Regions from separate parts of the Homo sapiens genome. Here regions 1 and 2 are each linked to region 3. Evidence: promoter capture Hi-C in 16 types of primary human blood cells and fetal thymus (Javierre and others, 2016). All regions are on one chromosome and are shown on one strand. Each heading gives the region's core, a stretch centred on a gene start or on the middle of the fragment in contact. The rest is flanking DNA. Distances are from core to core; before and after follow the strand shown. Region 1 overlaps PRDM2 (PR/SET domain 2). Region 2 holds the start of PDPN (podoplanin). Region 3 holds the start of PRDM2 (PR/SET domain 2).

Evidence for each region. The method cuts DNA at HindIII sites, captures the fragments that hold promoters and counts their contacts. A CHiCAGO score of 5 or more calls a contact.
Region 1: a contact is called between a fragment that was not itself captured here and the fragment with the promoter of PRDM2 in region 3, in 3 of 17 cell types (total CD4 T cells, activated CD4 T cells and total CD8 T cells). The highest score is 6.9, in total CD4 T cells.
Region 2: a contact is called between the fragment with the promoter of PDPN here and the fragment with the promoter of PRDM2 in region 3, in 3 of 17 cell types (naive B cells, total B cells and monocytes). The highest score is 6.5, in naive B cells.

What each region holds. Positions count from the first base shown.
Region 1 is chr1:13,810,702-13,813,970 of GRCh38, reverse strand. The region is part of intron 8 of PRDM2 (PR/SET domain 2); the gene reads right to left. Among named protein-coding and RNA genes, the nearest start is that of PRDM2, 110 kb to the right of the region's middle. RefSeq lists an enhancer at 46-95 and a silencer at 2,543-2,592. The HindIII fragment of the contact is 3,211 bases long and covers 1-3,174 here.
Region 2 is chr1:13,582,277-13,585,389 of GRCh38, reverse strand. It overlaps PDPN (podoplanin), which reads right to left and starts at 1,558. Exons shown (of 6, transcript NM_006474.5): 1 at 1,290-1,558. The coding sequence starts at 1,356. RefSeq lists an enhancer at 1,117-1,655. The HindIII fragment of the contact is 6,524 bases long and covers 1-3,113 here.
Region 3 is chr1:13,697,852-13,701,466 of GRCh38, reverse strand. PRDM2 (PR/SET domain 2) reads right to left here and starts at 1,279. Exons shown (of 10, transcript NM_001393986.1): 1 at 1,167-1,279. RefSeq lists a silencer at 757-1,526. The HindIII fragment of the contact is 13,472 bases long and covers 1-3,615 here.

The DNA.
Region 1 (3,269 bases), core at 320-2,819, 110 kb before region 3:
TTCTCCCTTTCTCTGCTGTTAAGTATCCAAAAGCCAGATCAATCACACAAAAATAACACCCCGACCTCCCAGGCCTCTCTAGCCAGCCAGTGTGTCTCCGCTCCCTTTAGCATCTCTTCCGCCTGGGCTCCTGCGGATGCAGCAACCATAGCGTCTCCACCAGGGGGCGCGCCTCCTCCCCGGCTCAGGGCGTCCATCTGGGTGGAACGAGTAGGTCGGGGGCAAAACCCCTGAAGGCAGAGGCCCCTCTGCTACCCCTCATCCACTGCCTGGCCTAATGGAGGACCACGGCAGCCAACATGAACATGGCCTCCATGACTCCCAAGGACTTTCTCAGTTTTCTCTCTGAACCCTCCCAGCAGCCCAGGAGGTAGGAAGAACAAGTGCTTTTATACCCCTTTCACGGATGAGAAAACTGAGGCTCAGACGGATATGGAGACTTTCCCAGGCGAGCAGAGCCCTGGGCTTTCAGCTCCTTAGGCCACCATTTTGAAGAAACACCAGGTCACTAATTGGGTGTTTCCTGTTAGGACGGGGACAGGATGTCGTGGGGGACTGTCCTTCCTGATCAAGAAGTGCTTCACTGTCAAAGAACTCATGAGAGCACAGTGCCCCCAACCCCGAGATGTTAAATACCGAGGACCAAGGCTCCGGAATTGGGTGCTTCTCCAGGGCACAGTAGCAGTTAGCGCAGAGCCTCATGATTCTTGGTTCCCACCCACTAGCTGTGTGACCTCAGTGAGTCATGGACCTGTCTGAGTTCCAGGTTGATCTTCTGCAAATCGGGAAGACCAGTTTGGGGTTACAGTAATGATTAACTTTGGAGAAAGGTCTCCGTGCAGGGCATCCTGGCACTCCAGTAGGTATCAGCACAGTGTCGTGACTGCAGCAGTTGCGGTTGGTGGACTCATATGGAGAAGTCATCACCCCAGGAGGATGCAGTATGGCCGCTGGAGACCTGGGGGTGGCCTCTAATAATCCTCATTCTCATTGACTGTATGGCCCAGGGTAAGCCACTCCCTGTCGCTCGGCCTCGGAGCCTCGGTTTCCCCCTCTGTAAAATGGAGACAGTCCCTGCCAGCCTGCCAACAGAGAGCAGGGCTGGAAGCATTTTGGTGACCAGGATTGAGAGCACTTTGCTTTCTGGGAAGAATCCAGCACATGTGAGATGCTCCTAGTGGGTGTGACCCCAGGAAGCATCGGAGCAGGAGGTGAGCCAGGGTCCTGACTGGTCCTTAAAGACTGAATGTCAGGTAAGACTTCTGTGTCAACACTTCGGTCAGACTTTTGGCTCAAACTCCTGGGCAGGGCTCCAGACCCGCACACCCACTGCCTGCCGGGCCCCTCCACTTGGATGTCTAATGAGCATCTCACTTTAACACGGCAAAGTGGGACATGCTAGGGTCCCACCTTGCTCCCGCCCCTACCAGGCTCCAGCCACACTGGACTCTTGTCACTCTTCTCAGGAAATGGCACTGCCAAACGTGTTGTTGTTACAACTAAAGCCCAATAGCCCTTTTCTTCCTCTTCTATTCATTTTGCTGCTTCGGATTGGCCATAGACCTAGAAACCACACACATTTGAAGCAGGCACACCATCGAGCAGTGTGCTGTGATCATGGGGCCTGTGAGACCCCCCGCTGTGCTTACCCTAAAGCTGATCCATCTCCGGGTCCCTTAATTCTGCCTCCAGGTCCACACACCTCTCTCCACTCCCATTGCCACCACCCAGCACAACCTGTGGCATCAACACCTTCCACGGGGACTGTGGCAATTGCCACTGCACTGTCCCCACTTCGACGCTGCACCCTCCCCCCCACCACCAATCCATTCTCCACTAAGCAACAAGAGAGGCCTTTATAAGGACCACCGGACATGACCACGACACTGGACCACATCACTGCCCAGTGCAAAAGTGGCCCAAGCCTTCCCACACAGAGTGCTGTGCACCTGCTTGCGACCCTCCCAGTCCCCTCACGCACTCTGTGTTCACCCTGTGCACTTGTCTCTCAGCCAGGCCAAGCTCTTCTTACCTGGTTGCTCCCTGCCTGGCTTTCCCCTGCCCTGCCCTCCTCTGCCCACAGCTCCCTCCCACCTTGTGGGTCTCAGCTTAAGTGTCTCCTGAAAGAGGCCTTCTCTGACCTCCCCACCTTAGTGGCAACCCCAGCCCTGTTCCCATAGCCTTTGGAGTTCCCTTCTGTCTTCCTTCTGTCTTTCTGTGACTTTCTGGGCCTTTTGCTCACAGCTTTTCCCACAGCAATCACCTTGCCTGTCGAGTTGCTTACTCCTTCAACACTAGAAGAGGATGTCTTTGAGGGCAGGGACTGAGTCTTGCTGACAGTGGAATCCCCTGTGTCCCCAGGCACAGGACCTGGTACAGGAAATATTGGGTGGGTGGGTGGAGGCAGCCATGAGGGATGCCCCTGGTTTGCAGGTGGAGGAAACATGGTCTCAGGACCACACACCCTCCCCAGGCCCGGCCCCTGTCCAGGGATGGCAGAGCCCAGAGTCTCTGGCACAAGGACAGCCTGTGCGCTCCCAGCACTGCCTCCAGTTACAAGGGGATGCCCCATCAGCCAGCAGGGGGCGAGCACAGTGTCACAGGATGCTTCCTGTGGGTTATGGTGATGGCATGGTCACTGTGCAAGTAAGCGTTAACGAGCCATTGCCTCACTTATCCAGAGGCCCCTTAACCTTCACAATCCAGAGAACAGCCTAGAACGTTGTAGAAAGTCTGAGCCATCCACAACCAGTGCCCACTGATCTGTAAACTCTTTTTTTTTCTTTTGAGACAGAGTCTCACTCTGTCGCTCAGGCTGGAGTGCAGTCGTGCTTTCTTGGCTCACTGCAATCTCCACCTCCCAGGTTCAAGCGATTCTCCCGCCTCAGCCTCCTGAGTACCTGGGACTACAGGCACCTGCCACCATGCCCGGCTAATTTTTGTATTTTTAGTAGAGACGGGGTTTCACCATGTTGGCCAGGCTGGTCTCAACTCCTCACCTCAGGTGATCCACCCACCTCGGCCTCCCAAAGTGCTGGGATTATAAGCATGAGCCACCACGCCTGGCCCAGATCTGTAAACTCTGACAGAAGCTCACTGCATGCAGGCACTAAAATTCATGCCTGGGCCTGCAGCCTGTCCCTAAGGAGCACAAAGTCACACAGAACTCAAGCTTTCAGCCAGGTGCGGTGGCTCACGCCTGTAATCCCAGTGCTTTGGGAGGCCGAGGCGGGCGGATCACGAGGTCAAGAGATCGAGACCATCCTTGC
Region 2 (3,113 bases), core at 309-2,808, 120 kb after region 3:
GAATAACCCACGGCCCCTATAAAAAGAGTTGCTCAGTCCCTTTGAAGCAGACAGCACAGCATAGAGCAGAACTCTGTCATTTCCCTGAGATTGGGTATTTTTGTCTGTGTGGACCATTGTAGGAGGCCAGGTTAGGCGCACCCCTCCTGCAAACCGCTCCCTCTCCAAGAAGTATTCCTCAGGGCCTAGGCCTACCTTGATCCTCAATTTTTGGAAAATGTTTACTTTTCACAGCATAACTCAGCAACCTCCAGCCCCAAAGATCACGAGTTAGGTTACAATTCCTTCAACCAACATTTAGTGAGCAACTACTATGTGCCAGGCATTGTTTTGGCCGTGGGGAATCATGGCTGGATGTAGCTGCGTCCTGCAGAACATATGTTCTATTGAGGAAATATAAAAATAAAAACCCAAGAAAAGAAAACAAAATGTTGACAGATGTCAATGGAGACCACCAACACAGCAACCCAGCGGGAAGAGGTAAGGCTCCAGGAGAGGACAAAGGGTAATGGAAGCTGTGGACGCCCCCACCCCAACATGGGATACAAAATATTTAAAGCCTAAGGAGTCACCAACAGACATTCAGCCACTGATGTTGTTGCCCAAGATGAACACGTGGCTCAAACCCACTTAAACCTCAATGTTCGTAACGCGTAACAATCCTCATGCACTCACACTCCTCGGAAGCCTCCACTTGGATCCTTTCCACACACACTATCCTCTCTAAAGAGGATAAAGGAGGCCTCTTCCAGTCCAGTGACGGGGTGCTGAGTGTGTCCAACAGGCAGGGCGCCAGACTAGGTAGTCCCAAGGGGGACCAGGGCCACCGCAGGGCGGGGAACCCTCCCCTTGGCCCAAGCCCTCCTGAACGTCCCTCCTGATTCTACGAGGCCAGCTTCTCCCGAGGCGTGCGTATTCCTCCAACACACCGCTCTATGGGAAGGAAACCCCAGCCACTGCTGCCAGCAAGCGGGGCTGCCTACTGTGAACCTTCCACCCGATCTCTCTGGTGCTGCCGACTCGGAGGGAGGCCCCCTGTGCTGCCCACCTCGCAGCCTGTGGATTCCGGGGCTCCTCCCGGCACACCCGCGCAGCTGCGTCTTTGGGACCTGGCACCGACTAAGCCGCTGCCTCTCCTCCTCCGGCGCTCAGCCGCCTGACACGCACACACCCTCAGCTCCCCCGCGCTCCCCTGGACAACCTCGAATACCAGGCCCGGGCATTCCAGCAAGTCTCTGCTCGCTCGTCCCCATCAGCGACGGCAGGAAGCCACTTGCGCTGGGTCTTACCTCCTTCTGCCAGGACCCAGAGCGACGCGCTTCCCAAAACGAAGAGCAGAGCTGACACCTTCCACATCGTTCCCGTTGAGTTGTTGCTCTCCTGGGGGCCGAGCAGCAAGATTCTGAGCTGGGGGAAAATTAAAAAGCACCGCGGCCACAGGCCCAGCCTGGAGGAGCGCGACGGTGGGGGGGCCGGAGGGGTGGGAGCAGGAGCCCCGGAGAGGGAGGGTGCCCGAGCTTCCCAGACCCTAGGCAGCCGGACAGCAAACTTTGCAGTTGAGAACTTTCCGAGCGGAGTCAGCATTTATCTCTCCCGAGGAGGCGGGGGAGCGGGGTCGGCCGCAAGGTGGTCTCCGTCCGGGCGCGCTAGGCCCGCCCTCGGGCTCTGTTTGGCCGGCGCCAAAACGATGATCTCAGGCCAGGTTTAAAGTTACAGGGCCGCAGCTGCGGGGGCCGCCAGGACTGCGGGCCCTGGCAAAATGGGCTTTTATTCTGCTCAACAACAGGAGGGAAAGGGACCACATGCAACAAACGGGGTTTTAAAAATTATATATAAATTTTAAAAAACCTATATTTATTATTATTATTTTTTTAAGAGTAAGGCACAAGTCTATGTTTTTCTTGTTATGGGCAGAAGTGAGAAGTAAACTGTTTCTTGAGTGGCCAGTAGTTTTAGAACCAAGCATGGGGTTTTTCCTGTAAATATTGAATTTGATGGCTTAAAAACAAAAAAAGTTGGCCGTCATCTGGGTGGGCCAGAGGCGGCCCGCGCTGGTCAATTGCGCCCTTGTCCCGGGGACCGGAGCGGGCGGGCTCCGGGGGGCTGCCCCAGAGCTGGCTGGTGGGGGAGTTTGGCAGACCGGGTGGCTTTGGCAGTTTTGAAAAAGAGGCTGAACTCCATCCGCCTCTGCCGACCCGGGGATCCAGCGCTGCGATGCTGTGGCCCACCGACGTGCGCAGTTGGATTAGGCCGGGCCAAGCGGTGACCCGTCTGGTCGCCAAACCTGTGTCCCCTTCCAGGCCTGGTTCACCCTCTTTATTCCTGAGTTTGCTCCCATAATCCTCACTTTACTGGTTTAAGCGATCTTGCCTTGATCTCAGGTACCAGATATCAGCAACCAGAGAACTTACGTCTTTTACTTTAATTCCTTCTGAATTGCTGGAATTTAAAAAAATAAGAACAGGAGTTTGGGAAGTGGTCTCTGCTCCACTCCCAGATGCCACAAATTCCATTCAACAAAAGAACCTGAAGACTAACGCTGTCTCAAAGCTCCACATTGCGTGAAAATTGTTTTCAGATGCTTATCTTTGACCCCTCCCCATTATAAATTTACTTTCTAAGAATCACAGGAGAGATTGTTTTAAATAAATGCCCAGTTTCCTGGGTTCCACCCCAAACTCATTAATCAGACCTTTTCGGAATTCCTATTTTAAACCAGTGTCGCTGGAGAACTTGTCCCCATGAACATTTGGCAAACCTTGCCCTTCATCATAGCTTCTCAGCCAGATCTACCTGGGGCACTGGTTATGCAGGTGCAATTCTGTTGTGGGATAGGGAGAGATTCTGCATTTCTAAAGATCTCCCAGGTAACGTCTTGTCCTGGGGCTACAAACAGGAGCTGAGCACCTGAACCTAGAAGATGAGGGGTAGCGGCAACACCCCTAGAGCCAAGGAGTTGGAAATGTAAAGAGAAAACTCGTGATACAGATACTCTTTCTTGAACTGACTTCCCCATCTTGGAGATGCATTTTATGACTCTAGTGTCAATAATGTCTGTTGACAGGAGGAATAGTGCATTGTCTGTTGAGCCTGTTAGATGGAGAATAGATGCA
Region 3 (3,615 bases), core at 30-2,529:
TTTTAAAAGGCCTACATTTTTCTAATACTTGGACACAACTGATCAAACCGAGGCGAAGTGTGTACCATTGTAAAAGAAATCATTGAAGAGTTCCATTTGTTGTTAAAAGTTTCGGTCACTTTTAATAAACCTGGAGTAAACAAAAACTTAAACATTTTAGTCGAGTTCTGGGGTAAAAATGATTCTTCTAGTGTCTGGTTAAAGGGATCTAAGGACCTACTGGGATTCAGCAAAAGACGTTCCACGTCTCAAATACACCCAAAATCTCAATACAACACTAAAAGAAAAGTGAGGGGCCAGCACGAAATTTCTGTTAGGGGAAATTTCAGCTGCGTAGTTAAGGAAATCAGGACTTCCCGGTTAACTATGGGGTCTTTGCCGCAGCTCACAGCCCGACACAAAGCTACAAGCCCGGAGGGTCGGTGGCTCACGCGTGGATCGAAAGAACCACGAAGGTTTGGGGAATGACACTGACCTGTTAGGTTTACTTCATGTCTCACTTACCACCATCAAAAGAGGTTCATTGATAGCTTTATTAGCAAAATTAGTAACAGAGTTGCACGTCTGTAACACACACACACGCGCGCGTGCGCACACACACACATACACCCGTGGGTCTATGGGAACATTGAGGGAGACAATCTCCAGGTTAAAACCACACAAAAACTATTTGGGAAACACAAAGACGCAAGACACAAAACAAATTTGGAGTGCAAATGTGCAAGACACACTCAGTGGGAACACAAAAGAGAAAAGCACAGCGGCTTGACAATTGGGACGGCGCCCGGCCCCACGTGGGGCCCCAGGTGGCCCCACCGCCGCCCGCACCCGGCCAGTCTCTGCAGCCCGCACGCGTCCCCCGCGGGGCGCGCGGCTCTTCACGGCGACAAACCGAATCCCGAACTTCGCCGCAGGGACCCCACGGCCGACAAGGAGGAGCCCGGCGCCGCCACCCACCCGCGGGGCCACCGACCCGGAGGCCCGCGCCTCGTCCCGGGGCCCCCGGCACGCCCGGGACCTCTGAGGGGGCGCGTCCGCCGACCCGGCCATCCCTGCGGCGCCGGGTCCCCAGCGTGTCGCCGCCGCCGTCGCCGCCGCGCTCCTCGGGGGGAGGGACCAGCGTCCCGGCGCGAGCCCAGAGGCCGCCCACCCGCGCCACTCCTTACCCGCGCCCGCCGCGCCAGCGCCTCAGAGCACCGAGGGCCGCCGCCGCCGCCGCTGTTTCGCCGGCCCCGGCGCCCGCGGCCGCGCCGCCGCCATCTTGACTCCAGTCGGAAGTGACGTCGGGCGGCGAGGCAGTGGCCTGCGGGGCTGGGGGGCTCCGGGACCCCCGGTCTCCCCACGATCCCAGAGCCCGGCCCTTGACCCTGCGCCGTCGCCCAATGGCCACCACCCAGCCGCCCCTCGTAGGTCACCGCGGATCCCATGGCGGCGCCTCGGGAAGGAACCCCGGCGGCTGGCGTCGCGGCAAGTCCGACCGCACCCTAGGGCTAGGATCCTGCGTGGTTCAAAGATTCTCAAAGAATCAAAAAGACTGAAGGAGGTGTTGGGGGGGCATGTCTATCGTTGGAGGTCATTAAATATCTGACAAGTACATAAACGTAGACCTTATACTTCTACGTTTGGATCTATACCAAAAAGATCCAACTCCAGGCAGACAGACGCAGCTGCTGGGTTTATTTGCTGCCCTAGTACCCAGGAGCAGTGACCAACGCTGCCCTGTGCCCGCGATGTTCCAGTGCAGCGCCTCTGAGAGCGCGGTAGTAGTCCTGCCCTTAAGGAGCTTGCTGTTCCCAAGCGGGCAAACAAATGGACTGCAGAGACGACGACTCATAGATGTTCTGATGAAGATGAACTGGGTGGAACTGGAGATGGCTCTTCGACATCCAAGGGTGGAGGCCTAGCACGTGGTTGAAAATGAGTTGAGTCGGGGAGAAGCACAGGCTGGAGATGAGCTGGAAAGTTGGGAGTTGTCGTTATAGATGGTGCCTGGAGCCTTCAGCACTTCAAGATAAAGTAATCCTCTGAGAATGAAGTCAGGAAGAATCCGAATGTGATGGCTACGTTGGCCATCTGCAGAAAGCACCCAGTGGAAAAACAGGATACTAAGGGCAGGTGTGCTTCCAAAAATTATGAACGATCATTTATGTAACAGGTTTAATCTTAAGAAAACGTGTTGGCCGGGCGCAGTGGCTCACGCCTGTAATCCCAGCACTTTGGGAGGCCAAGGCAGGTGGATCACGAGGTCAGGAGATCGAGACCATCCTGGCTAACACGGTGAAACCCCGTCTCTACTAAAACTACAAAAATTTAGCCGGCCGACGTGGCGGGTGCCTGTAGTCCCAGCTACTCCGGAGGCTGAGGCAGGAGAATGGCGTGAACCCAGGAGACGGAGCTTGCAGTGAGCCAAGATCGCCCCACTGCTCGCCAGCCTGGGCGACAGAGACAGACTCCATCTCAAAAAAGAAAGAAAACGTGTTGTATCAACATATATCATGTTATCTTATTGTAAAAGAATGAGGCTAGGCCGGGCGCGGTGGCTCAGCCTGTAATCCCAGCACATTGGGAGGCCGAGGCGGGTGGATCACGAGGTCAGGAGATCGAGACCATCCTGGCTAACACAGTGAAACCCCGTCTCTACTAAAAATACAAAAAATTAGCCAGGCGTGGTGGCGGGCGCCTGTAGTCCCAGCTACTCCGGAGGCTGAGGCAGGAGAATGGCGTGAACCCGGGAGGCGGAGCTGGCAGTGAGCCAAGATGCCCCACTGCTCTCCAGCCTGGGTGACAGAGCGAGACTCAGTATCAAAAAAAAAAAAAAAAAAAAGAATGAGGCTATAGCTGATGATCGAGTCGGTTATAGTAAACAAATGAAGATCACCTCATTAGAGTAAATTTTATTAAGGCCTTGAGAAGTGACAGGGCTTAAGAAAATAAGGAAATAAATCAAACCTCAAGGGTTTGCTTATTTCTTCCGCTATTCAAGGAAAAGAGACCCTAGATCTGGGAGATACCACGTGCCTGTCATCAAAGTAGTATTCTCTGTTGTGGAGCAAAGTCATCAGACTTCTGCACCCCTTACCTAGATTAATACCTTCCAACTGGATCCATGCATCGAAATTATCTGGGGTATCTATGAAGAAAATAGGGAGACCCCACTGTTCCATCCACCATCAAAACACTGACATAGAAATCACCATTTTAAGAGAAAAGCTATGGGCCACCTGGCATTCAATAGAATGCAAAAGGAAAATAAAGGATGTTAAATCAGAAGTGGCACGGTGAACCAGAATGGATACTAGATGGTTGGTTAACAGAGTAGCCAGTAGTTGTCTTTCCGGTTATTAATTCATTAATCCAAAGTGACTGGCTATATTAGTTTCCTGTGGCTGCTGTAACAAATTATCCCAACCCTGACAACAGAAGTTTATTCTGTCACAACTCTAGAGGCTAGAAGTCCAAAATCAGTATCACTAGGCCAAAATTAAGGTGGCAGCAGGGCCGGGCTCCCTCTGGAGTCTCTAGCAGAGAATTGCTCCTTCCCTTTTCCAGCTTCTGGTGGCTGCCAGCATGCCTTGGCTTGTGACTGCATCACTCTATCTTCAAGGCCAGTATCTT